Linked DNA regions of Homo sapiens: regions 1, 2, 3, 4, 5 and 7 are each linked to region 6. Evidence: promoter capture Hi-C in 16 types of primary human blood cells and fetal thymus (Javierre and others, 2016). All regions are on one chromosome and are shown on one strand. The core of a region is centred on a gene start or on the middle of the fragment in contact, and the rest is flanking DNA. Distances in the headings are between cores, read along the strand shown.

Evidence for each region. Contacts are between HindIII fragments. The CHiCAGO score rates a contact against its expected background, and 5 or more counts as called.
Region 1: a contact is called between a fragment that was not itself captured here and the fragment with the promoter of NUDCD2 in region 6, in 1 of 17 cell types (naive CD8 T cells). The highest score is 6.3, in naive CD8 T cells.
Region 2: a fragment that was not itself captured here is called in contact with the fragment with the promoter of NUDCD2 in region 6 in 1 of 17 cell types (total CD8 T cells); the score reaches 10.6 in total CD8 T cells.
Region 3: a contact is called between a fragment that was not itself captured here and the fragment with the promoter of NUDCD2 in region 6, in 2 of 17 cell types (total CD4 T cells and naive CD8 T cells). The highest score is 6.2, in total CD4 T cells.
Region 4: a contact is called between a fragment that was not itself captured here and the fragment with the promoter of NUDCD2 in region 6, in 2 of 17 cell types (naive CD8 T cells and total CD8 T cells). The highest score is 9.6, in naive CD8 T cells.
Region 5: a contact is called between a fragment that was not itself captured here and the fragment with the promoter of NUDCD2 in region 6, in 3 of 17 cell types (total CD8 T cells, activated CD4 T cells and naive CD8 T cells). The highest score is 7.0, in total CD8 T cells.
Region 7: a contact is called between a fragment that was not itself captured here and the fragment with the promoter of NUDCD2 in region 6, in 2 of 17 cell types (naive CD8 T cells and total CD4 T cells). The highest score is 6.2, in naive CD8 T cells.

Annotation. Positions count from the first base shown.
Region 1 is chr5:159,168,437-159,172,418 of GRCh38, reverse strand. It overlaps RNF145 (ring finger protein 145), which reads left to right. Exons shown (of 11, transcript NM_001199383.2): 7 at 2,600-2,740; 8 at 3,364-3,546. Among named protein-coding and RNA genes, the nearest start is that of RNF145, 39 kb to the left of the region's middle. The HindIII fragment of the contact is 248 bases long and covers 2,271-2,518 here.
Region 2 is chr5:159,272,380-159,275,938 of GRCh38, reverse strand. UBLCP1 (ubiquitin like domain containing CTD phosphatase 1) reads right to left here. Exons shown (of 11, transcript NM_145049.5): 7 at 1,317-1,354; 8 at 693-791. Among named protein-coding and RNA genes, the nearest start is that of UBLCP1, 11 kb to the right of the region's middle. The HindIII fragment of the contact is 1,332 bases long and covers 1,396-2,727 here.
Region 3 is chr5:159,994,998-159,998,897 of GRCh38, reverse strand. No RefSeq gene overlaps it. Among named protein-coding and RNA genes, the nearest start is that of TTC1, 12 kb to the left of the region's middle. The HindIII fragment of the contact is 3,133 bases long and covers 1-3,068 here.
Region 4 is chr5:159,196,234-159,199,899 of GRCh38, reverse strand. All of the region lies in intron 2 of RNF145 (ring finger protein 145), which reads left to right. Among named protein-coding and RNA genes, the nearest start is that of RNF145, 11 kb to the left of the region's middle. The HindIII fragment of the contact is 2,726 bases long and covers 17-2,742 here.
Region 5 is chr5:160,017,898-160,021,737 of GRCh38, reverse strand. All of the region lies in intron 2 of TTC1 (tetratricopeptide repeat domain 1), which reads right to left. LOC124901124 (a long non-coding RNA gene) reads right to left here. Exons shown (of 2, transcript XR_007059025.1): 1 at 2,707-3,840. Among named protein-coding and RNA genes, the nearest start is that of TTC1, 11 kb to the right of the region's middle. The HindIII fragment of the contact is 1,261 bases long and covers 1,180-2,440 here.
Region 6 is chr5:163,458,255-163,461,986 of GRCh38, reverse strand. NUDCD2 (NudC domain containing 2) reads left to right here and starts at 1,885. Exons shown (of 4, transcript NM_145266.6): 1 at 1,885-2,125. The coding sequence starts at 1,937. HMMR (hyaluronan mediated motility receptor) reads right to left here and starts at 1,355. Exons shown (of 18, transcript NM_001142556.2): 1 at 1,249-1,355. The coding sequence starts at 1,294. RefSeq lists enhancers at 1,109-1,168, 1,919-2,168 and a silencer at 1,499-1,588. The HindIII fragment of the contact is 3,644 bases long and covers 1-2,614 here.
Region 7 is chr5:160,094,526-160,098,137 of GRCh38, reverse strand. The region is part of intron 1 of PWWP2A (PWWP domain containing 2A); the gene reads left to right. Among named protein-coding and RNA genes, the nearest start is that of PWWP2A, 23 kb to the left of the region's middle. The HindIII fragment of the contact is 7,889 bases long and covers 1-3,612 here.

The DNA of each region.
Region 1 (3,982 bases), core at 1,145-3,644, 4.3 Mb after region 6:
ACCTCCGCCTCCCAGGTTCCAGCAATTCTCCTGCCTCAGCCTCCCAAGTAGTTGGGATTACAGGCATGCGCCACCACACCTGGCTAATTTTTATATTATTAGTAGAGACCATGTTGGCCAGGCTCATCTTGAACTCCTGACCTCAGGTGATCCACCCACCTCAGCCTCTCAAAGTCCTGGGATTACAGGTGTGAACCACCACGCCCGGCCTGAAGACTTTTAAAATGACCCAAAAAGTAACTGCATATAGAGAGAAAGAGAGACAGTTCTGTGGTTAGGATAATAAACTCAGCGTGAGACTGAATTGGTGGTGCTTTAAACCAGATTGTTACCCGCTGCAAAGCACAGTAAGATGAGGTATAGCATAGTGCAGTAGGCTTAACAATTTACTAAGCCATGAATGCATTTGGACTTATTTACAAAGTAAGAAAATAATATTCGGATATTCTGTGAAGTTTAGATATCTTGCTAACATAATTTTTTTCTTTTCTTTTTCTATGCCTCGCCAGGATAGATTGCCTTTTTTCATGATAAGAATGTTGTAATTTGCTTTGAGAAGTTCTCATATTGGTTCTTTTGTTAATTTATATCTCTGTAAGAGTTATTCTCTGTTCTTATCCATGCTTTTGTGTGCCTGGTAATGTTTATGTTTCTTTGCCAAAAAAACAACTTATTTAGAAAAAGAGATTGGGAGCTTACCAGAATACCCTGACTAAACAAACACACCAACCAACAATAAAGCACACCAGATCAAACTGCAAATCAAAAAAAAGGTTTTTTTTGCAGCCAGAAAATAGAAATTAAGATTTAATAAAAATGAGTTACTGAATGAAGAGAGAGCAAAGAAAAACTTTATAAATTTTCCAAACTCTTTCACTTCCCCAAAGCTAGGTCGAAATCTTTGGTATTTAGTATGCTCTGTTTTGAAAAATAGCACCACATTTTTTTTTCTAAAATAAGAGAAAAGGAAAGTGCTCTGTTTGAATACGTAATTAAATCATATTGTGTGGGTGTAAAAAATGTTTCTAAATATGGAGAAAGGTCCGTAAAAATAGAGAAATAGTATGGACCTTTGGTTAAATTTTCAGCCTTTTTCAATAAGAATGAAGTAAAATTTTAGTTGGTTTTCAGCCATGATTCTCATGTTGTAAAATTGTACACAATTTGTTTAAAATTGTTACTAATGATTTCAGTGTGAAAATGCCAAACATTTCAGAAATTAAATTTGTAGGAATGTCATAAAATTAATTATTTTTTTCTAGTTATTAGCCACCATGATTGGTGGATATTTTGGCTCCTAACAGAAAACCAGACTTTTTTTCTCATCATAGTGTACATTGGTACCATGTAAAATTAGATGCTTTCACATAAAAACCAACTAATAAGCAATTGTGTAGGAAAGATAACTATATAGAAGCATGGAGCTGCATAGTAAGGGACAAGCATTGATTGCCTGAATGAATTCCTCATCTATATCAGTGAAATTCTTCTTTGAAAATTAAAGCTTAAGATGTAGATACTATATAAGGGCTGGGAGCATTAGCTCAAGCCTGTAATCCCAATACGTTGGGAGGCCGAGGTGGGAGGATCGCTTGAGGCAGAAAGTTTTAGCCCAGTTTGGGCAACATAGCAAGACCTTGTCTGTATAAAGAATAAATTAGCCAGGCGCAGTGGCACGCTCTTACGGTCTTAGCTACTTGGGAGGCTGAAGTGAGAGGATTGCTTTTGCCCTGAAGTTCAAGGCTGCAGTGAGTTATGATTGTACCAGTGCTCTTCAGCCTAGCAACAGAGCAAGACCCTGTCTCAAATAAATATACGTATATATAAGATAGATATTGTGTAAATGCTAAATCTATCTCAGTACATAATAGTACATGTATTTATAAAATACATATAAGTTAATATCTAAGAAGTTCAATGAAAATATTTCCAAGTTCTAGTGTAATGTCTTCCAGTTATCCTTATGAATAGTATCATAGCAAACTTTTGTTAAAAATTAATATTAAAATTACTTTTCAATAGTCTTGGAGCAAATTATTGGGCATGCTTTTGAAGTAACCCTTTTTTAAAAAATGCCTTTGTCTCAACCTAAATTTAAAAATAGCAGTAGTATGTAAGATACTGATGGAGTAGGAGGAGTGATACACCCTGCTCCATAGCAGTTTGGTCAAATAAGGAGTTGCAGCAAGTATTCATATTATAATGTAGCACAGTGAACAATTTGAACAGCCATCATTTTTCAGGAAGAAGAGTGGGCAACTGTACAAGCTTCTTTTGAATACTTGTCAGCATGCTAATTATATATTTCTTAAGATGTGAACATTTAGGCTCTTTGAATTTTACTGTATTTGAAGACCTTGTTTCAGATCTGGTGCTATGTACTGCATATTTGCCAATGAGATAGAAAAATGTGGGTTTGAAGGTGAATAAGATGGTTAAATTATTAATGGAGTAATTGGGTGATTTCTCCTCAAATTTTGGTTTAGGATGTTTTAATTAATGAGTATCAAATCAAGCTTGGTGATTATTTAAAGGCCTCAAATGTGTTTACTCCAAATGGAAAGTTTATGTCTGTTAATTTCCCCCTCTTTTTTTCCAGTATTGCGGAATGCTGCAGCACTCCTTACTCTCTTTTGGGTTTGGTCTTCACGGTTTCTTTTGTTGCCTTGGGTGTTCTCACACTCTGCAAGTTTTACTTGCAGGGTTATCGAGCTTTCATGAATGATCCTGCCATGAATCGGTAAGTTCTTTCCTTGATTATATCTAGAAATGTAAATACTATAGATAACTTGAGGAAGTAATGATGAATTTCTTTGGCTGATGAATTTTAGAAGAAATGGAATTGGAGAGGTTTTTTTTGAATGGTTGCAACATTTGGGTTAAAATACTATGAAAAAATACATTTCCATGTTAAAGATGTATTTGTATTGTATGTATTAATACATTATGATGAATATTGGGCACCTTCCTTCCCTAGATTTCTTTAAGAGATTTTCAGAAGCGTGCTTTTTCCCATTTGAAGTTTAGCCCTGTTAAAATCTGATTTCTATACAGTATTTGATGTTAATATCTGGCTCATTTACAGAATCTGGTTGGAAAACTTCTATTTGTCTTAGAAGTTATTATTTTTGCCCTCATTGTGTGGTAAAGTAATAGCTATTATGCCTTTGCACATGTAGTGATATATATGACTATTTCATTAATGTTACAAAGTTAATATACTGATCAGGTTTTTAGTCTGGATTAAGTCAGAATAGATTTAAAAATATGTAACAAGAGTCTAAGCCTTTGGATTATTTTTCTCTTTGAATTAAATGAGATTCAGATTATTTTATGTTTTCTGAAAATGTATGCTTTTTTTAGGGGCATGACAGAAGGAGTAACGCTGTTAATCCTGGCAGTGCAGACTGGGCTGATAGAACTGCAGGTTGTTCATCGGGCATTCTTGCTCAGTATTATCCTTTTCATTGTCGTAGCTTCTATCCTACAGTCTATGTTAGAAATTGCAGATCCTATTGTTTTGGCACTGGGAGCATCTAGAGACAAGTAAGAAACCTCTTAATATTCTTTAAATTAACTCATGTAATATTCTTTACATGCATTTGTTGTCTAAATATTTAGGGAATATTTAGAGACAGAAAATGGATATGGGTAATTGGTATTAGCTTAGGTTAATTCAACAAGTTTATGTTTTTATTTTTCCTATATGAGATGTCTGACTTACTTGACTTTTGTTTTTTTCTCTCAAGATTTTTTAGTTAAAAATGACATCAAAGGCCATGTAATTATAAGTTAACTTTTTCTGCTTCAGATGAAGTTAATACTTTTTATATTTGTCCAATTTTAAAATTAAGAACATAGAGCATAAAATTTAGTCTAGCATAATAAATGTAACAAATAATATTTAATTTTATTCTGTGTAAATTAATTAAAGGAGAGAAAGCATTAAGTGAAATGCAAATGAAGGAGAGGAAAATAGAGG
Region 2 (3,559 bases), core at 812-3,311, 4.2 Mb after region 6:
CATGATGCATCTGCTTTTATTACCAGTTTCAAACAGGGCAGGGTGAGTGTTTTCGCTTGTTTCTAGTATCTTCCTTGATAATATTCAGTATTTTTCTCACCTACTCTGCCCAGTAACATTGTGCTGTCATCAACACAGGTCAATTACCCACAATCACAAGTTCCTTTCTTGACAGTCCTACTTCAAGATCCCTAATTTTATCATTAAAATTCAAATCTTTTAACCTTGGCTGGGCACAGTGGCTCACGCCCATAATCCCAGCACTTTGGGAGGCCGAGGCAGGCGGATCACGAGGTCAGGAGATCGAGACCATCCTGGCTAACAACAGTGAAACTCCGTCTCTACTGAAAATACGAAAAAATTAGCCGGGCGTGGTGGCGGGTGCCTGTAGTCCCAGCTACTCAGGAGGCTGAGGCAGGAGAATGGCGTGAACCTGGGAGGCGGAGCTTGCGTGAGCGAGATTGCACCACTGCACTCCAGCCTGGGCGGCACAATGAGACTCCATCTCAAAAAAAAAAAAAAAAAAAAAAAAAAATCTTTTAACCTTAAATACATTTTCCTATGTCAAAACTCAACCACTTTATTATTCACTCAGATGAATCTCTACACTATTTACTCCATAGGTATAAACATAAAAAGTACACTGGAAAATAACCATGGTGTCATTAAATAGAAATAAAATGACTTCTTACGTCTATTAATCCTCTCCTTGGAGTATGTACTGTTATCATAGCAGCACTATCCAACATGAAAGTAATCTTATAATTTGCATTTGTGCTCACTCCCAGCTCCTATAAACACAAATATTTGTGAGGTTAAAACATAGTAGTGTGGAAAATTTCAGATTTTCTGAATATTCTAGCTGCAATTTCTCATAATGCCAACTTTCTACACCACTGGCCACTACATCTTGCTAAACAACTAGGAAGTATTTTAGTTTCACTTAGCCAAGTCAATAAATGGTAAACCAAGGAAAATAGAAATAGATTACTTCCTAATTTACCATTTTAGGAGAATACTGACTCTTTAAGTATTGCACACTAGAGCAAAAGAAGGAAAATAAAGTATTATTGTAAAATGAGGAAGAATGTGGGGGAGGGGACAAGCTTAGTTATACTTTTTCTTAAAAAAGACTTAGGGATTCAGTACAATCCACTTATTAAACACACTTTAAAAACACCTCTACTCCCAATAATGGCATTTATCTATCTACTAAGTGCCCTCCAGTAAGAATAAAATTAATTCAGTTCTAGAACTTTTAACAAGACAAATGCAGTTTGAAAATATTTTTAAATGGATTGCTTTCTAACACTTACTTTCATTTTAGCTTCAATCCACTTCATATTTGTTGCAGCTAAAACACGAGGAATGATAATACAATACATATGAAAAGCTTGAATTTCTTTAAAAAAAATCTGTATAAGTAAGTTTTCTAAGCAAAACTAAAAGTTTAAATGCATCAGAATTAACAGTCCCTAGCATACTTATGGTAATTTTCTTTTAAATATTGATAAAAGTAAACTTACTGCAGTGTGTCTTCAAGACAGAATAAATTTTAAACAACTTTTATCTGTAAGATACAGGTAATCCATGCTCAAAAGAACTCTGAACCTAGGAAATTTATAAATCAAGACCTAAACTCTCTTTTTAAATCAGCCCTGACACTCTATCAATTCCAAACTTAAACTTGGGTGCCTGGATCACTTTTTTCCATGTTCCTACTTCTAGGCAATGCACAGGTATACATAGTGTCAATATAAGCATATTGTTATGTGTCAAAAGTTTATGTTGAAAACCAGCTAGTCAGGTTCAGTGAAAATCTGCATTTTGTCAGTCTCAGCAAATTAAAGCTCACTGAGTCTAGCAGCTTCTAACAAGAAATGAGACAAATTCATGAAGTATACCTGCATCATGTATCTGCTCATTGTCAGACATTAACCAGCTTTGAGATCATTAATACTAAAATTAAATCCTCATCTTTATGTGCTCTCCTGGTTTACTGGACTAAACTATACAGGTATAACCAAGTAAAATGTTTAAAAAGAGAAAAAGCAATTTAATTATTTGAAGTGTGTGTGTGTGTGTGTGTGTGTGTGTGTGTGTGATTTTTAAAAGCAAAAGAGGAACCTGAGTTCTCAAAATAAAAAATCTTCAGCATGCACACATACAAAAAAACAGAAGAATCACCTTACACGTACAAAACTGGTCAGTTGAGCTAAAATTTTAAAGACTATTGTATCTCCAATGAAAATAATCATAAGATAGAAAAAAATTTTAATCCGGTACTTACTTTGTATCTGTAATTATCAGACGAAAAACAAAAAGACCCACAGCTAATAAAAAGTTTCTAATTATTAAGTAACTATATGTCAGACATAGTACTAGTTGCTATATTGATACTTCTATTCTTACAACTAACCTGTAATATGTATTTAGATATCTTCATTTCTCAAGTGAGGGAACTAAGGCTCAGAAAGATTAAGTGACCTGTCCAGTGTCACACAGTAAGAACAGAGCCAGAATTAAAATCCTAGTCTATTTAGCTCCAAAGTGAAGTACTCTTTTCAATGAACTACCACAAAATATCACAGTTTATAAAAATAATTTAAATATACTATTGTAAAAGGTTCTCAAATTTTATAAGTCTAGTTTAATAACATTTAAAGGATAAACTTTTTTCTCAAATATCATCTTAGATGTCAAAGTTGCTAAACAAACCAGCAAGCTTTCTTCACCTTATCTTACTAAACCAGAAAATTATATATTTTGACAATAATTTTAATCTTAACAGCTGTGAACTCACATGGAACTCACATATCACAAACAACGGAAGTACTCTGATTATAAGGAAAAATACAAAATGAATTTACAGACTGCAACAACTAACATAATTTCTCTCAAAGACCTAGTACAATGAAATGTAGCACCTTTACTTGATGGGACTTCATTTAATTCAGTCAGGATAACTCTTCTCTGCTTATGACATTGCCAAGAGGCAACTTTAAATATTTGTGGGGAGGAGGGATGTAAATCAATGCATTGCTTCATTTTCCAAGAAAATCTTGCTACCAAAAAACGTTAATTGAACTGAATAGTGTGCTTACGATTACAGTATATTTACTTCTTGGAACAAACTCAGTATCTTATCACAGACCTGTACATTCTTGAAATGGTCCGCAGACCACAATTTCAATGTCACTGGCTTTAGTCCACATATTAATTTTTCCTTAAGTAATTCAAGTTGCCTTTATTTCCAGAGAACTATATCACTGTGATTTTGTTTTAAACACCTTTTTCCAAGTATTTTAAAACTGGAGTCAGGAAAAAAGGAGAAAAGAAAAATATTCTGAAGCATCAAGAATTTCACAGCAAAGATCAGAAGGAAAGGCTGGGCACATTGGCTTATGCCTGTAATCCAGCACTTTGGGAGGCCAAGGCAGGAGGATCACTTGAGCCCAGGAGTTCAAAACCAGTCTGGGCAACACAGCGAGACCCTAAAGATATGTGCCTAGTTAAAAAAAAAAAAAATCAGAAGGAAAAACTTCAAATCAAGGTGGGG
Region 3 (3,900 bases), core at 253-2,752, 3.5 Mb after region 6:
TTTCGTAAGTAGTTCCATCCAAGTGCACTTAAGATGCAGTTCCCCCTTTATTATTGAATTTTATATGAATTCAGCCCTAAACTGGCACTAAAAAGATAATATATGGTTGTAGCAGGACACTTACATGGAAGTGACAGAAAAACATCAGCGTCTCTGGGAAATAGGTCTCAAGTTGAAGAATATAGTAAGACTCAACATTCACTCAGCACTACAGAAGCCGATCCTGTGTAATTGAAAATGCGTAAGCTCTGCATTCGTGTGTGCTTACATGAAGATTACTTTGGTTCCCCTAACAGCTCTGAGCTAGACAAAGCAAGTATTACTTCCATTTTACCGAAGAGAAACTGAGGAAATTGAGAGCTGAAAGGACTTGATCAGGAAGACCACGATAGCTTATGACAGAGTTATATTTATAGCCGGAGGGACAAAGAGATCTCTGTCCAGTTCTTCATCTCATTTGTTCTATGAACTCCTTTGGTGGGCTGCTGAAGCCTCTGGATCGCTTCTCAGAGAAATTTTTTTAAATGCATAAAACAAAATATACTGGAATATGAAGGAAATAAATTATATTGAAATACAGTTCCTATAATACTAACAATAAAATTAGCAAGATATATATATCTACGTATCTACATATTCTGTTTGTCTACACACACACTCCTTTTTATTAACACATTAAGTATAGCAGGTGTAATAACTACCACAATTTTGAAGTAGTGATGAGTATATTCAATATTTCAAGTCATCTGAAACAACTGTAATATGCTATGAAATATCTGATATTCTTTTGGTGATAAAGTCAAAAGCTCTGCTAATATTACTATGTTCTATTGGCTAAGTTCATAAAAGAAGGAAAAACTAAATTTCAGTTAAAAGTTAGAGGCCAGGCGCGGTGGCTTACGCCTGTAATCCTAGCACTTTGGGAGGCCGAGGCAGGAGGATCACCTGAGGTCGGGAGTTTGAGGCCAGCCCGGCCAACATGGTGAAACCCCATCTCTACTGAAAATACAAAAATTAGCCAGGCGGGGTGGTGGTCATCTGTAATCCTGGCTACTTGGGAGGCTGAGGCAGGAGAATTGCTTAAAACTGGGAGGCAGAGGTTGCAGTGAGCCGAGATTGGGCCACTGCACTCCAGCCTGGGTGACAGTGCAAGACTCTGTCTCAAAAAAAAAAAAAAGTTAGTGAAGATAAGAATGTAATTTTCCCCCTATCTAAAGTCATGACCCTTCCCTCTAAATTTTATCCATTGTCCCTTTAGGGGTTTGTAGATCTCAAGTTAGGAACTCCTTATCTAGTCCAATCCCTCATAAAGCAGATGAACAAATGAGGTCCAGAGAGGGAATGTGATTTATCTAAGACATTTTAGCCACATAGCAGGGAATAAACTAGAACCCAGAGGTTGGTAATTCCTTCTCTATAAGGCTGTTATGAGGAATAAATGTAACAATATATGTAAAATCTTAGCACAGTACCAGTGACACAATAGGCATTTGTAGAAAACTGGCCACACAACACAGTAGAAGCAGAGAGATGAGACTTTCTGGAAATCTCTGTAACAGAGGGCAAACTCAGCTGTATGTGTCTTTTTGTTTGTTTTTATTTGATTTCAAAAATTCTTTTTGCCACACTGGAGGAGAATGTTTGTTTGTTTGTTTTTAGACAGTCTCACTTTGTCACCCAGGCTGGATTGCAGTGGCACGATCTTGGCTCACTGCAACCTCCGCCTCCTGGGTTCAAGCGATTCTCCTGCCTCAGCCTCCCAAGTAGCTGGGATTACAGGCACCCGTTACCATGCCCGGCTGATTTTTGTATTTTTCGTAGAGACAGGGTTTCACCATGTTGCCAGGCTGGTCTCGAACTTCTGACCTCAGGTGATCCACTGGCCTCAGCCTCCCAAAGTGCTGGGATTACAGGCATGAGCCACCACACCTGGCCAGTTTGTTTGTTTTTATAGACAGAGTCCCACTCTGTTGCCCAGCCTGCAGTGCAGTGGTGCAATCATAGTTCACAGCAACCTGCAGCTCCTGGGCTCAAGTGATCCTCTTGCCTCAGTCTCCTGAGTAGCTGGGACTATAGGGGCGTACCACCATGCCTGGATAATTTTTTGTTTTTAAATTTCTTTGTAGAGGGGATCTTGCTATGCAGTCCAGGCTGGTCTCAAACTCCTGGGCTCAAGCAACCCTCCCACCTTGGTCTCCTGAGTGGCTGGGATTGCAGGTATAAGCCACCACACCTGGCCCTGTATGTGCCTTTTGTCTTTGCCATATTTCTTCCTGCCTGGAAGAGGGACATTATGGCCACATTTTAAGGACAGAGTAGGGAAACACTAGAAGGGCCATGGGCCTCTCCTGACAGTGTGGATTTGCCATACTATCCCCACTGTCCCCAGACTGCCTACTTCCAGACTTCTCATATGAGAGAAAAAATAAACAAACAGCCCTTTTTGATTTGTTCAAGCCACTGTTATGTGTGTTCTGTTATGTGCAGCCAAACTCACTCCCCTAACTGATACACAGCTCTTCCTGGCTGGGTGACTTACTCTCTCTGAGCCCTAAGTCCTTCATTTAAGGTTTTTTGGTGAGGATTAGAAGATACAGAGGACTTAGGCAGTGCCTGGCACAGCAAAAAGCAGCTATTATTATTATTACTGTTTCAGTGGATTGCAGTTCAGTGCTCTTTCTACCAAATTGACTCACAGCTTAAAAATCACTCACACAGACTCAAAATCCCATTAAGCCCTCCCCAACCCCAGCCCGCTTTCTCCAGCTGCAGCTTTGGTCCACTGCCTCAAAGTCAGCCTGAGGAAATACTTACCATGTCCCAGGGAGAGGAACAGTTTATGAAAATGCTGACACAGACGAAACACCTAATAATTAGTGGCTAACAACCACAGACATGGAGGCAATTAAGAGGGTTGTGTAAATTGAGGGGACTAAAGCAACTTCTCTTTTATTCCTCAAATGTTTTGCCTAAGCCTCCGAGATATTTCTTCTGCCAGCAGTGCTGACTTTACAGGAAGAAAGTGGGATGAGAAGTGGTGGAGAGTTTGTAGGAGCTGTGAAGAAGCTTTGGACTCCAGATGCCTTCCCTGTTCCAGTGACCACTCTGCTAGGCTTTCTTCCATATGAGCTGGGGCCATGTGGGTCGTGCGGGGCATGCGTGAGCCCGTAGGACTTACAAGGGTTCAAGGGGCAAGGATGGCCTGTGGTTCCCGAAGGCACACTTGGCCTACAGTTCTGTCGAAGGATGGTGCCATTTATCTACCTGGCTCTTTTGTTTTCTTTGACACTACTTCCTTAGCACTGATGGTTAGGGACCACCGAAGATGTTAATGCCTGCCAAAGTGGCTTCCTTAGATGTCGGGCTTAGAAGTGAGGCACATGTCTTTCTCTACTGGGGGCTGGTTGGGTCCCCAGAAGTACACTGGGCAGGCTAAAATTTGGAATCCCTTCTAATTAATATCCCTTTATCATCATCATCTTTATAAAAATAACACAATTTAAAAAATCTAAGCGTTAAAATAGGACTAACTTGGAGCCCCAGTACCACTCTCCAGAAGTGATACTAACAGGAATGAGACCAATGAACTTTTCCTGTAATTTATCCCAGCGATGTTTTAGCATTTATTTAGATTCTCCCTCTCCTTTCCTCTCCCCACAACCACCCCAGGGAGCTCTGTTTTGCTACTTAATCCAGCTGTCTATATGAAAATGTGGGAGCTCTCAAGGCATCAGCTCGACGGACATGAGGAAAACTCTCAAATTTCCATTTTCTTATCTAGGGAGATTTTCCTAAGGGCTAAGGCACAGTGAGTTGCTTTTGTTATTCCTTATAATGAACAGCCCTTTAGATCTTAGATTTAGAAATAATGTTCATTTGGGATTCCTTAGTAATTACTGC
Region 4 (3,666 bases), core at 130-2,629, 4.3 Mb after region 6:
TTCAAACTTAGAAGCTTTCCAGGGTGGGTTCTGCTGAAAGAGAAGTGACTGCCCACTGTTTTTTGGAGTGTAGGATATGAAAGGAGGAGTAGAAGTAATATTGGTAAGGTAGAATAGGGCTTTTGTGAAGAATCCTGAATACATACAGTAGATATGGTGCTTAATTCTATAGGTCGTGGTGGGTCAGTGGGGATTTTAGAGCAGGTGAGCTGCATTTTAAGATTGATTAGGCAGCGTTTTATAGGATGATGGATTGGGGAGGGGAGAAACTGGAGGTAAGAAGACCAGTTAGGATTTTAGGCAAGAGGTAATGAGAGCCAGAACTGGCAAGGTAGAAATTAGAAAGGAAGAAATGGATGCGAAAATCCTTTTGAAACTACCATCACTAAAATCATTAGTGACTTAAAATGTAAAATTCAACCCTCATTTATGTCCTAATTCTACAGACTTTTCTATGTTTATGGAGCTGTTTACCACTTCCTCTTTCTTGAAAGTGTTTTTTTTTTTTTTCCTGATTTTTCTCCTAACTCCCTGACCATTGCTTCTGATTCTTTTGATTTGTTTTCTTTAGACTTCTCAAGTGTTGATATTGCCCACAATTTGTGTTTAATTTTAATCTTTTGTTGTTTGGGTGACCGAACGTAGTTTGGGCTGCAGATCTCTGTCTCCACTTTACATTGCTTTTTGACCACTGTAGTCTGGAGTTGATGTTCTTCCTCTGTGATTCCATGGAACCAGTTCACATCTCTACCATAGCAATTATTATGTTGCATTCTAAGGGTCCATATGCTTATCTATTTTCCCAACTGTTAATAGATTGTGAGCTCCTTTAAGGTAAGAAGGGGGTTGTTTATTATCTCAGTATTCCCAGCACCTAGCTGGTGCCCAATAATGAATGAATTTTATATATATGTATGTATGTACGTGACAGGGTCTCACTCTTGCGCAGGTTGGAGTGCAGTGGTGTGATCATGGCTCACTGCAGTCTCAGACTCCTGGGCTCAAGTAACCCTTAGCTGCTGGAGTAGCTGGTACTACAGGCATATACCAAGGTCTTGTTTTGTTACCCAGACTGGTCTCAAACTCCTGGCCTAAAGTGATCCTCCTGCCTCAGCCTCCAAGAGTGCTAGGATTACAGATATTAGCCACTGTGCCCAGCCCTGAATGAATGCATTTTGAATTACTTCTTAGACATTTCCACCTAAATAGCCTATGGACATTTCAATTTGTTGTCAATCACTGAACTCATCACCTTTTTCTCACCTCAGAAGTCTTTCTCCTGCTGTGTTTCCTGTCTTAATAGCAAAGCTGTCTTCTTGATTACCCAAGCTAGAAACATCAGATCTTCACTTCCTTGTTCTCAACTAGTCACCCACAGATAACCACTAAGACCTATTTAAATATGTATCTCATGGCTGACTGGCAGCTCCATACCCAAAGCTACTGTTACAATCCAGGCTCTCATCTTACCTCTGGTCCTGCTGTTTACCCTACAACTACCATAATGTTTAAATAGCAGAAATTATTAGATTCATCAGTGTTGTTTTAAGCAGGTCATCATTTTGATTTATTTTTTATTTTTTCTGTTCTCAGAGTCTGTTCCCGTAGGTCATTATTTCTTTTATTTATTTATTTATTTATTTATTTATTTATTTATTTAGAGATAGAGTCTCACTGTCGCCCAGATTGGAGTGCAGTGGTACAATCTTAGCTCACTGCAGCATCAACCTTCTGGGCTCGTGTGATCCTCCCACCTCAGCCTCCTCAGTAGGTGGGACCACAGTTGTGTGCCACCACACCTGGCTAATTTTTTGTATTTTTTTGTAGAGACAGGAATTTGCCGTGTTACCCAGGCTGGTCTCGAACTCCTAAGCTCAAGTGATCTTCTGCTTTGGCCTCCCAAAGTGCTGGGATTACAGATGTGAGCCAACACATCCAACCCTTATTTTTTATAGAGACAGGGTCATGCTCTGTCACCCAGACTGGCAATCATAACCTCACTGTAACCTTGAATTCTTGGGCTCAAGGGATCCTCCCACCCCAGCCTCCCGAGTAGCTGGGATTATAGGTGTGCACTACTACACCTGGCCTAGGTCATCATTTTTAAATGCCACTGGTCTTGCTTTTTAATTACAAATTACTGTGTATAATTTAAAAACTAACAGCTTTGCCATTGTCAACTTAGTTTGTTATGGATTGTTTGGTTAATGCTGTAGAGTGAGTTGTGATGCATGTTTGTGTCAATAGTATTTTTGGCTTGCATTTTTTAAATTGTTAGATTATATATACATCGTAGTTCAGATGGTTCATTCATACTGCTCTCATAGTTAGTATTCATTGTCTCTCAAAGTTTTCTTACACAAATATTTTGTTATCACAGAGTTACTTTTCCACTGGAATATAAAAATGGGGTATAGATGAGCAATGGTGCTTTTGTTGTTTTGGTTTCTGTTCTCTTACCTCACCTAAATAGATATTGAAGAATTTGAGAACCATTAGCTAAGTCTAAATTCTTGATTATTGTATTTAGGCTTTATATTGAGGCTTTAGCTGCTAGTTCTTTCAGCATCATCTCCCAATCTTTCTGTTAACATCAAAGTCTAGTCTAACGTACAGAATTTACTGTCCCCTGAAAATTACACTTTTATGGTTTTCATGCTTGCTGTTCTCTTTTCCTAGAATGTTTCCTTTTCTTCTTAGCCTGGTAAAGAACCATTCACCTTTAGAGATCCAAGTCAAGCTTAATCACTTAACCATAGCCCTTCCAATGTTCATTTATTATAGCATCAATTTTGTCTAATAATTACTTTTGTCCATGCTTATCTTTTCACTAGATTATTATTCACATTAATTTTGGATCTTCCATGTCTAGGAATGCAAGTGGGTCATACTTTACACATAATAATGTTGATTGAATGACTGGATAATTGAAGGAATGGATGAAATGAATATGTTTGATCTAGAAGATTTGGCCGCTGATTTTATATGCGATATATAGGAGAAAGAAAAGACAAGACCGTTCTGGAAAGGAAAATGACAGTTTCGTTAAAAGAGAGTTTAAGGAGAAGTTTCATGTAATAGACATTAGAAAATCCTTCAGCTACAATCAGTGGAAATGCTTAGTAACTATATTACATATCCTTTAAAATACCTCTAAAGTCATTTGAGGTAGGGGTTAACAAAATTGGGGAAATTATTTTAAGAAATAAAGAGCAAATAAAAATACTTATCTCTGGCTTTTGATGGACTGTCCTTGCAGTTAGGATGTGTAGGAAATCCTCAGTTCTGTTTCTTTAGTCCCAAGCATGCTCATGTTTTCTTAGCTTTTGGCATGATTGATTCAGCATGAGAGAGGCAATAGGGGATAAGTAGGAGTACCTGTGCCTTAATAAAGATTTGTAAATTAAGTGGAAGATGGTTATAGAAGAGTAGACTGGGTCCAGATTGTGTAAGACCAAGAATGTCAGGTTCATAACTTTTAGAGCAGGAGAATTGTCAAGTAAAAGTGATGGTGTTAGGAATATTACCCTGGTAATTAAGTATATCAGGGTGTCCAATCTTTTGGCTTCCCTGGACCACATTAGGAAAATAATTGTCTTGGGCCACACATAAAATATGCTAACACTAGTGATAGCTGATGAGCTTAAAATTGCAAAAAAAAAAAAA
Region 5 (3,840 bases), core at 561-3,060, 3.4 Mb after region 6:
TAAAAAAATAAGCTTTTGGTTTTGTCTTCTTTGAAATCAGATATCACTTGCTTTACATACATAAAGACATATCTGTTCTTTCCACAAGTCACCTTTACAGGTCCTCTAGGGAGGCATGAGGGAGGATCTTTGGATCTAAGCCACAGTTAGAACCTGCCTCTCAGTAGGTGTTATCCTTCTGAGGAAAAAAATGACTGATCTATGAGGAATTAATCTTGGAAATAGTCCCTTGTTTCTTAAATCAGAAAATTCTATTTCCCAAAACTCAATCTTTAACAGAAATAAATTTTCTATGTCAGGACTGCTTAAATTCGGCCCAACAAGTTGTTTTTAGACCTTGATCAACGGATGTAGGTAAAAGAAAACCTCCTATTCAGTTCTTCCGATGTTGGATGCAGTCAATGTACGGGTTAGGTCAATACTTCTTGTTTTGGAAGCTTAGTCATCTGTGTCCATCTGGATCTGTTTCCCATGGTGTGGCCACAGTTCTTCCTATATCAAAATTACCTGGGAGGCTTGCTAACAAAACAGATGCCTGGTTGTTGCCTCACAGGTGTGTGGTGTCAGACACTTCTCAGGCTGTGCATGGTTAATACATTTCCTGTGATGCTTAGACACAATAAAGTCTGGAAACCACTGATCTACACAAAGTGACCTTTCTTAATAAACACAGGAAATACTGAACGTCATTTTAACTTTTCTGCCAGCAAATAATGTAAACACACCTCACTAACTTCCAAATGTTTTAGAGCAGCGGTCCCTACCCTTTTTGGCACCAGGGACTGCTCTTGTGGGGAACTATTTTTCCACGGACTAGGGTCTTGGGGAAGGGGGTGTTCATAATGATTCAAGCACATTACATTTATTGTGTACTTTATAATTATTAAACTGTAATATATAATCAAATAGTTATACAATTCACCATAATGTAGAATCAGTGGGAGCCCTAAGCTTGTTTTCCTGCAACTAGACGGTCCTACCTGGGGGTGATGAGAGACAGTGATAGACTATCAGGCATTAGATTCTTGTAAGGAGCAGGCAACACAGATCCCTTGCATGTGCAATTCACAACAGGGTTCACAAGCCTACGAGAATCTAATGCTACCATGGATATGACATGAGGTGGAGCTCAGACAGTAATGCAAGCGATGGGAAGTGGCTGTAAATACAGATGAAGCTTCGCTCACTAGCCTGCTGCTCACTTCCTGCTGTGTGGCTGGGTTCCTTACAGGCCACAGACTGGTATCAGTACATGGCCGGGGGTTGACGACCCCTGTTTTAGAGCAAGCAACCCTTATTTCCACTGGTTTAAACTTAGCATCAGGCCAGGCAGGGTGGTTCATTCCTGTAATCCCAGCACTTTGGGAGGCCAAGTGAAAGGGCCTCTACAAAAATAAAAATAAACAAACTTGGGATCAGAAATCTAAGCTCCTTCTAGGATTTGATTTAATCGTTTGTAGACAGCATTAAGTTCAACAGTGGTAACTCTAAGAAGTTGGTAAAACTGACCACCTTAGTTCCAAAGGATGCCTATTAGAAATGAAAGAAAAGGAGGCTGGGGCGGGCGGATCACTTGAGGTCAGGAGTTCGAGACCAGCCTGGCCAACATGGTGAAACTCCGTCTCTACTAAAAATACAAAAATTAGCTGGGTGTGGTGGTGGGCACCTGTAATCCCAGCTACTTGGGAGGCTGAGGCAGGAGAATCACTTGAACCTGGGAGGCAGAGGTTGCAGTGAACCAAGATCATGCCACTGTACTCCAGTCTGGGCGACAGGGCAAGACTCTGTCTCAAAATAAACAAACAGAAAACAACAACAACAAAAAGAAAACAAGAAATGAAAGAAAAGGGAGGCAGGAGGCAGGGCACAGTGGCTCATGCCTATAATCCCAGAACTTTGGGAGGCCGAGGTGGGTGGATCATGATGTGAGTTCGAGACCAGCCTGGCCAATATGGTGAAACCCAGTCTCTAGTAAAAATACAAAAATTAGCTGGGTGTGGTGGCACACGCCTGTAGCCCCAGCTACTCGGGAGGCAGAGAGAGAATCGCTTGAATCCGGGAGGCGGAGGTTGCAGTGAGCAGAGATCGCACCGCTGCACTCCAGCTTGGGCAACAGAGAGGGAATATCCATCTCAAAAAAAAAAAAAAAAAAAAAAAGAATGAAAGAAAAGGGAAACAACAAAATCAGAAAGGTTGCTCATGACGTTAACAGGACTATGCAGGCCACTATGGAAGAAGTTACTGAGAACTTTTTGGAAGCAATCGAGAGTATTCCCTGCAAACACATCCACAGCCACAACATTAATTAGATTATGAAAATGGTGCAATAGGGTGGCAGAAACATGGAAATCCAAAAGATTAAGTAATGTGGAATTTAGGAAAAATGACAGAGGGAAGAGACTGAAATATAACATCTGTTCTAAACTGAAACTTCTAAGCTTTGATAATGGTTCCTAAAGAGAAAATGACCTTAAAGAATAATCCTTAAAACTTTCAGAGCCTAATGTTTTAAAATCCCAGATACCAGGCATTCTGAATCCATGTTCACCAAGCAACAGACTTTTGGATCCCTTATGTGTACATGTAAATGAATACCATTTGCAAACCACTAGTGAAAGGGAGCAAACCCATTGAAATGACTAAATCTGCATTTTGGCTTACAAATAAAAAATGTTTGTTTGCAGGAAAGAATTAAATCACCAGAACCTGGATAAGTTCAAAGTTCCTTCATCTTCTTCATATTAATAAAGGCCACACCATCCATCCAGTAGCTGAAGACAAGGAATCATTCTAACGTCTCACTCCATCCCGCCAATCGAATCCACTGCAATGTGTGGTCTGCTTTACCTCTGAAATATATCCCAAAATCATACACTTCTCTTCAGATCCACAGTTCAAGCTACTATCATCTTCACTGGGCTACTGCATTAGAGCCTAATTGGGCTCAAATGTTCTATTCATGTCCCTCCTCCATCCTCATACCCCTCCATTCTCTGTATAAGAACTGAATTCTCTTATTAAAATGTAAATAACTTCCGTCTCTCCCTGGCTTAAAATTATCCATCTGTTTCCTTCTGCACTTGGAAAAAACTTCAAGTTCTTTACTACGGCTTAGGAACTATTCCATAATCAGACCCTTGCCTACTATCAGCCCACTCTCTTCCTTAATCATCATGCTTCAGCCATCGGCTCTTCCATTCCTTGAACATGCCAAAACACCAAACTTGTTGTTACTTTAGGGCTTTATTCAACTGCTCTCTTTGTCTGCAATGCTTCCCTCTCAGACGGTCACACATTTGGCTGCTCCCAGTGCCACCCTCCCCTAAGTCTCTGTTGAGAGGCCACCTCTCCAGAGAGGCTTTCCTGACCAGCCAATCTAAAGCAGTCCTCTCCACCTGTCTTAGTCAGGTTGCTATAACAAAATAACAGACTCAGTAATTTATAAATAATAGAAATTTATTTTGCACAGCTCTAGGGGCTGGAAATTCCAAGATCAAGGCACCAGCAGATTTCGCGTCTGGTAAGGGGCTTGTTCTTTGCTTCAATATGGTGCCTTCTTTCTGCATCCTCACTTTGTGGAAGGGGAGTAGAAGGGCCCAACAGGTTCCCTCAAGTCTTTTATTGGTATACTTTATAAGGATACTAATTCTTCTAATCACCTTCTAAAGGCTCCACCTCTTAATACTACACATTGAGGATTAAGTTCAACATGAATTTTGGAGGAAAACATTCAAACCATAGCACCATCCTTCCAACCCAACCCATCCTTCATGTTAACATTTTGTCCTAATTCTCCAATGAGAGAACAGAAACCCTGTCTTGTTCACCACTGTATCCCTC
Region 6 (3,732 bases), core at 636-3,135:
AACCACGAAATAGTGTATGATAGTGAATAAATCATGAGCTTTAATATTTAGCTCTACCACTTACTGATTGTGCAAGATACAAAACCTCTGTTTTCTCATCTGTAAAATGAGGTCAATATCAGTACCTTCCTCACTTGGCTTTTGGAAGGAATAAACAAGATCTAGTAGCACAGTCCCAGCATACAGCATTTTTTTTTTTTCTGTAAGACAGAGTCTTGCTCTGTCGCCCAGGCTGGAGTGCAGTGGCGCGATCTCGGCTCATCGCAAGCTCCGCCTCCCGGGTTCACGCCATTCTCCTGCCTCAGCCTGTAGTCAGCTGGGACTACAGGCGCCCGCCACCGCGCCTGGCTAATTTTTTTTGTATTTTTAGTACAGACGGGGTTTCACGGTGGTCTCGATCTCCTGACCTCGTGATCCACCTGCCTCGGCCTCCCAAAGTGCTGGGATTACAGGCGTGAGCCGCCGCGCCCGGCCGCATACAGCATCTTAAATGATGAGTGCCTACCAAACACAGCTAAGGCTTCCTGGTTACTGTGCTGTGCATTGCGGTGTTAAGAGCACACGATGGGGGCTGGGTTCATATTCCAGTCCGGTCACTTTGGTAATGTAGCACTGAGCAAATTTAAGTCTCAGTCTTTTTATCAATAAAATAATAATAGGATTACCCCTTAGAGTTGGTGGGAAATTAACATAACTAATAATCGATGTAAAGCCTTAGTACGGTGCTTGAGGTATAAGTGGTCAATATCAGCCATAACTTCATTGTTTATGTTTTCAATAAGTGCTGCTGCTCTAATTTTACACCCATAAACTGCCTTTACTAATCTTCCTTCTTTTATGCCCAAATGGAATACACAAAAGAAATGCACAAGTTCAGACTACAAGTAATACTCCAGTGTTCTTATCAGTGAGGCCCTCTCGGACTTGAAAATCAAGTAGCTACCAACGTCTCGGGTCCATTCCCTTCGCCCTGCTGTAGTTTCTCCATTACCGCTGTTTATTGACAGTATTCCCCGCCTGAATGTAAGCCCCACGGGGCGGAGACTGTTTCACTGCGGTATCCTTAGCATCCTGATTAGTGCTTGGCATGTAACAGATGCTTAGAGCATATTTGAGAAAAATCAATCAACTGAATGAGCCCCAGCCCGACCCTAAAATCGCCTCCTGCTTGCCTCCCAAGAAGGGAGCTGAAAGAGGCAAAGGGCGTTAGGGCGTCTCCCGTCCCCCAGCTCTTTCCCCCTTACGCACCAGAAGGGTCATTGAATCGTTTCAAGGGCGCCTTAGGAAAGGACATGTTGACGGCCAGCTCCAGAAACTGAAGGTGACTGGCACTCCTCGACAACTGAATGCGGATTATCACTCCCTACCGGTTTCAAATTCAAATCTCCCCACATTCCCCACCCACCCCGGCGTTAGCCAATTGGAAAGCCAAACCCCTGGGCACACCAATCCCGCACAGGAACACGAAGAAAGAATGCTGGGTTCTGATTGCGTCCAATTAGCTGGCCTGCGAGTTTAGGCTGCCATCCAATAGGAGACCGTTACTGTTCCCCGCCCCACCCACCCAGTCATTCCCGGAGTTACTCAAGTGTAACCTAGCATTTGCGCAAGCGCACTTCCCTCCGGAGACGTTAGAAAGTGCATTTTGGCGTCACTTAGGGGACGGTGTAGTGAGTTCCGGCTTCACTGGTTCCAATTCTGTCCCATTGTTCGTTGCATGTGAACTTTTCTGGATTTCAGTTCTTTCATCCGGGGCCTGCCGGTGCCGTAAACGGCCATTCAAAGGGAAAAACGAACACGCACACCAAAGCGCTAGCTTGCGTTCCTGCGCATGCGCAGTGACCCGAGCGGAGAGGCCGAGGCGTAGCCTAAGCGTGGGATTCCGCGCGTGCGCTCGGCTCCGCCTGGTGCGGCCGCGGCCGGGAGGGACTGGATTATGTCGGCCCCGTTTGAGGAGCGGAGTGGGGTGGTACCGTGCGGGACCCCGTGGGGCCAGTGGTACCAGACCTTGGAGGAGGTGTTCATTGAAGTTCAGGTGCCGCCAGGCACGCGCGCCCAGGATATCCAGTGCGGCCTCCAGAGCCGGCATGTGGCGCTGTCGGTGGGCGGCCGCGAGATCCTCAAGGTAGCGGCAGCTCGGGGCTTGTGTTCAGTTTCCTCTTCCCAGACGCCCCCAGCCCCGTTTCCCTGAACGACTGTTGGGTGTCCCGACGGCTCCTGTGGCTGGCAGAAAGAGAAAGAGGATAACACTGACCAGGTTTGGGTCTGGTCAGAGCCCCCGCCTCTTCAGGGCAGGTGCTGAGTTGTGGAAATTTGAGGAGCCTATTTTCGTGTTTAGTTTTCAAACTAAGACTGCTGCTTCTGCTTCTCTGACGGGCTTCAGCTGGGAACAGATTAACTAGGTTGCTAAAGGAACAAATATTTCTTCCGTGCACTGAAGACAGGCAGGAAGACAACAGATAACGTACCTGCAGTGGAGAGGTTAAGCTCCTGTACGGAAGCGTAATTCATAAATAGATAAATATAGGAAAGGACAACAAAGAAAATAGGGATAGAATAACGGGCAGAGAATTTAGAGATGATGTCAGGTGATTAGTTTTCTCATCTAAAAGCTTGAAAATCCTGCATGTTTGTGGAGTGGTCAAGCAGGTGGTGAAGAGGTGTGTGCATAAAATAAGTAGTACTCCTTTTATTTCTTTTCACCAATGCTCTTTGGATCTGGACCCGCTTTTTCTTTGTTAAGTGTATAATTAAACTAACAGGTTGAAATTAGATTTAGTTCTCAGGTTAGATGCCCAAGATGTTTGATGGCAGTGTAATATGGTGAAGGGAGACTACTTGTTTCCTAGTTTTGTAAACTTGGGCGAGAGATTGTTCAGTGTCTCTATATCTTCCTTATCCACAAGATAAGGTAGTTATAGTACCCTTCTCATGGGATTGTTTTGAGCTTAACATGGTATTCACGTGTATGAAGAGCTTGGAGTATTCACTGGTATGTAATAAGTTCATACTATATGTTAGCTATTAGCTATTATATATATTACAGTATATGGAGGTGCTTTGAGTGCCTCAAGATTCGTGTGAAAGACATTATGTCAGCTTGGATCTCAGTTACTTTTCTGAATTGTACAATTCATAGTTTCCTCAACAATGGTTTTAGATTACGATTATAAATTAGTAAATCCAGTAACTTTCGGAATTTAGCAGTAGCTGCTGAATTTGGGATTTCTGATGTACGTATAGACCAGTGGGATTTTTTTCTCACTAATTTTGACATATTTTAAAATGTGGGCTTTTCCTAGTGACATTTAATTTCACTTTCTATAACTTAAATTTGGCAACAAATTAAAATGGATTTGAGTTTAGGCATTCTCTCTTTAAAAAAAAATATATATTTATTGAGACAGGGTCCCTGTCTCCCATGCTGGGGTGCAGGGGTGAGATTGTAGCTCACAGCAGCCTCAAACCCATGGGGTCAAGCAATCCACGTTGGCCTCCAAAGTCCTGGGATTACAGGCCTGAGCTACTGGGCCTGGTGCAGTCTCTTTTAAATTTATATTTTGTTTATTTTTTTAAAAAACATGAGTTTGTGAACAGTTAGTCACAACTAATCTATCAAATCTGGAATACGTAAAGTTTTTTTAATGCCGATTGCCCAACAAAAAGATTAAAACGTTTTTAAAAGTTTACTTTAAAAACAACATTTTGCCGGGTGCGGTAGCTCATGCCTGT
Region 7 (3,612 bases), core at 105-2,604, 3.4 Mb after region 6:
ATAAAGATAAACATACCAGATTCCATTACTTGATATAAACAGCTATAAAATAATTGGCTGGGCCATACTTGCATTGAGAGTATAAATTAAAGACATGGGAAGGAGCCTAAATTCTAGCAAAATTGGCTGGTTGCAGTGGCTCACGCCTGTAATCCCAGCACTTTGGGAGGCTGAGGCTGGTGGATCACTTCAGGCCAGAAGTTCAAAACCAGCTTGGCCAACATAATGAAACCCCATCTACTAAAAATACAAAAATTAGCCAGGCGTGATGGCTCGCGTCTGTAATCCTAGCTGCTCAGGTGGCTGAGGCATGAGAATAGCTTGAACCCAGGAGGCGGTGGTTGCAGTGAGCCGAGATTGTGCCACTGCACTCCAGCCTGGGCGACAGTGAGAGTCTGTCTCAAAAAAACAAAACAACCGCCCCCCCCCCCAAAAAAAAAACCTCTAGTAAATTATTAGGTGTTTTTTGTTTTTGTATTTGTTTTATTTATTTTTATGTTATGTTATTTGAGACGGAGTCTCTCTCTGTTGCTAGGCTGGAGTGCAGTGGTGCGATCTCGGCTCACTGCGACTTTCACCTCCCGGGTTCAAGCGATTCTCCTGCCTCAGCCTCCCGAGTAGTTGGGACTACAGGCGCGTGTCACCACACCCAGCTAATTTTTGTATTTTTAGTAGAGACGGGGTTTCACCATGTTGGCCAGGCTGGTCTTGAACTCCTGACCTCAGGCCTCCCAAAGTGTTGGGATTACAGGCGTGAGCCACTGTGCCTGGCCTTTTTTTTTTTTTTTTTTTTTTTTTTTTGAGACAAAGGCTTACTCACTTGCTCAGGCTGGAGTGCGATAGCGCGAACATGGCTCACTGAAGCCTTGACCTCCCAGACTCAAGCAATCCTCCCACCTCAGCCTCCCAAGTAGCTGGGATCACAGGTACATACCCCCACACCAGGCTAATTTTTCCTATTTGTAGAAACACGGAGTCTTCCTATGTTGCCCAGGCTGGTCTCAAACTCCTGGGCTCAAGCAATTTGCCCACCTCACCCTCCCAAAGTGTTAGGATTGCAGACGTGAGCCACTGCATCAGGCTGTAAGTTACTAGTTTGAAAATAAGATTAAATCACTTACATGAAGCAAATTAAATAAAGTAAATATTAACCAAGGAAAATGGCTGCCGCGTATTCACCTATTGATCTTTATCTGAATCCTTTTAAGGTCAGAAATAGTGTTTCATTTTACACATGCAAAAATGAGTTTAGAGGATACAAACAGTTGATAAAAGACAGCTGTGAAACTTCACCTCAAACATTAAGATAAGTATGGTTTAGTTAGTCCTAATAAAAGGAAGGGAGCCAGGCATGGTGGCAGGTGCCTGTAGTCCCAACTACTTGGGAGGCTGAGATGAGAGGATTGCTTGAGTTCAGGAGGTTGATGCTGCAGCAATCCATGATTGCACCACTGCGTTCCAGCTTGAGTGACAGAGTGAGGCACCGTCTCTATAAAAAAATTTTATAAATCAGTAAGAGGAAGGGCACTTCTCTTCATTCAGGTATTGAAACGTGAACATGTGATGGGGGCAAAATTATGCCTTCTTACAAGTTAGAAAATGTTATTGTTAATGCAAGTAGTGATATCACATCAAATAAGTCACATTGTTTATGTTGGTTCTGCATTAAAACACAAGAAGCACCTCTTTTGTCCTGTCATCTTTTGAAAAAGTGGTTAATGAGCACCTATGTACTGTGTAAGAAAGGGTTAAATGCTTAAAGTTACTTTGAGTTAAGTAGTCAGGAAGCAAACACTTGGTTACCAGAAGTTAGAATGGAGAAAGCAACTTTCTGTGCAGTCTGATACAATAGGAGGTACCTTTCCTTTTTGGACTATCCGAGACCTAATCTTGTCTTACCGTAGGTAAAAAAAAAGCCTTTCCTTTTTATGTTTTGTAAGTATTTGCTGTAAGTTGTTGGTTTGTGGTAGCCAGACTAACAAAGAATTTTGGGAAAAAAGTATTCAGGTGCTAGAATAATACCTGGTGTATGCTGGCTCTTTGTAAATCCTGCCCACGTTTAGGTTTGTCCACAGCTGTTAGTACCTAATATCAAGATTTCTTCCTAGCAAAGGTATTCTGAACCTTTTTGGGAGCATAAGAACATTTCTGGCTGGACACGGTGGCTCACGTCTGTAATCCCAGCACTTTGGGAGGCTGAGGTGGGCAGACTGCTTGAGCTCAGGCATTCGCCTGGACAACATGGTGAAACCCTGTCTCTACAAAAAATACTAAAATTAGCCAGGCATGGTGACGTGTGTCTGTGGTCCCAGCTACTTGGGAGGCTGAGACGGGAGGATTGCTTGAGCCTAGGAGGTCGAGGCTGCAGTGAGCTGTGATGGTACCACTTGCACTGCAGCCTGGATGACAGAGTGAGATCTTGTCTTTAAAAAAAAAAAAAAAAAAAAAAAAGAACATTTCGGAGAATCTGAGCACTGAAGATTTGTAGTGTAGAAAATATAGACATATATAAAACACTGGCATCTAGTTTTGAAGGTTCCACGTGACTGACTACCTGAAGCCAATCTTTGGGTTTAGATCTAAGCCCCTTTGCCTTACAGGATTGGCATTACAGTTGTATTGTGTTAGATATTGTTGGAATCAAATAGTGCATATAGTCAACATGCTAACCTATATGCTGAAATTATTTGGTAGTGTGATTTGATTTTATGTGAAGAAAACTTAGTATAGCAAGTTTATTTTAAGGATCAGGTTCTTGATATTCAGCCCAGGCACGTTAAGCCACTGTTATTTCTAACTCTATTTATGAAATAAGGTTATTAGAAACTGAGAATTTTAAAGATTCGTATTAGATACCATGGTTTGCAAACAGAGTCTGGACCCGTAATGGAGTTTTCAAATCAGTTTAATGGGTCTGACTAGCCTTAAAGCAAATGAAGTAGGCCAGAGTAGAAAAGAAATTATGTATCACAAAATACAAGGTTAAGTACTTGGTGAAACTTTTGCTTAAGTGTGTGTATTTATGTATATATGGATGCATGTATACATTCATAAGTAGTCTTTTTTTTTTTTTTTTTTTTTTTTTTTTTTGAGACAGAGTCTTGCTCTGTTGCCCAGGCTGGAGTGCAGTGGTGTGATCTCAGCTCACTGCAAGCTCTGCCTCTTGGGTTCACGCCATTCTCCTGCCTCAGCCTCCCGAGTAGCTGGGACTACTGGCGCCTGCCACCATGCCCGGCGAATCTTTTTGTATTTTTAGTAGAGACGGGGTTTCACCGTGTTCGCCAGGATGGTCTCGATCTCCTGACCTCGTGATCTGCCCACCTCGGCCTCCCAAAGTGCTGGGATTACAGACATGAGCCACTGCACCCGGCCCATTCCTAAGTGTTTTTATTGGATTGCAATGCAAATATATTTCTTAATGTGAGATGATTTAAAAAGAAAGCCACAGCTCTGTAACTGTTTGCTTTGGAAGTAGTTTGAGTATCTGAGTTCTTGATATTTTTGTGTTTTGGGAGACAGAATAGGTAACTAGTTAGGATGCAAGAGTAAAAGAGCAACTTTCTTTGAATCTTCAGTGATTAACCAATAAAGTTGAGATGGGATTTTACTCAT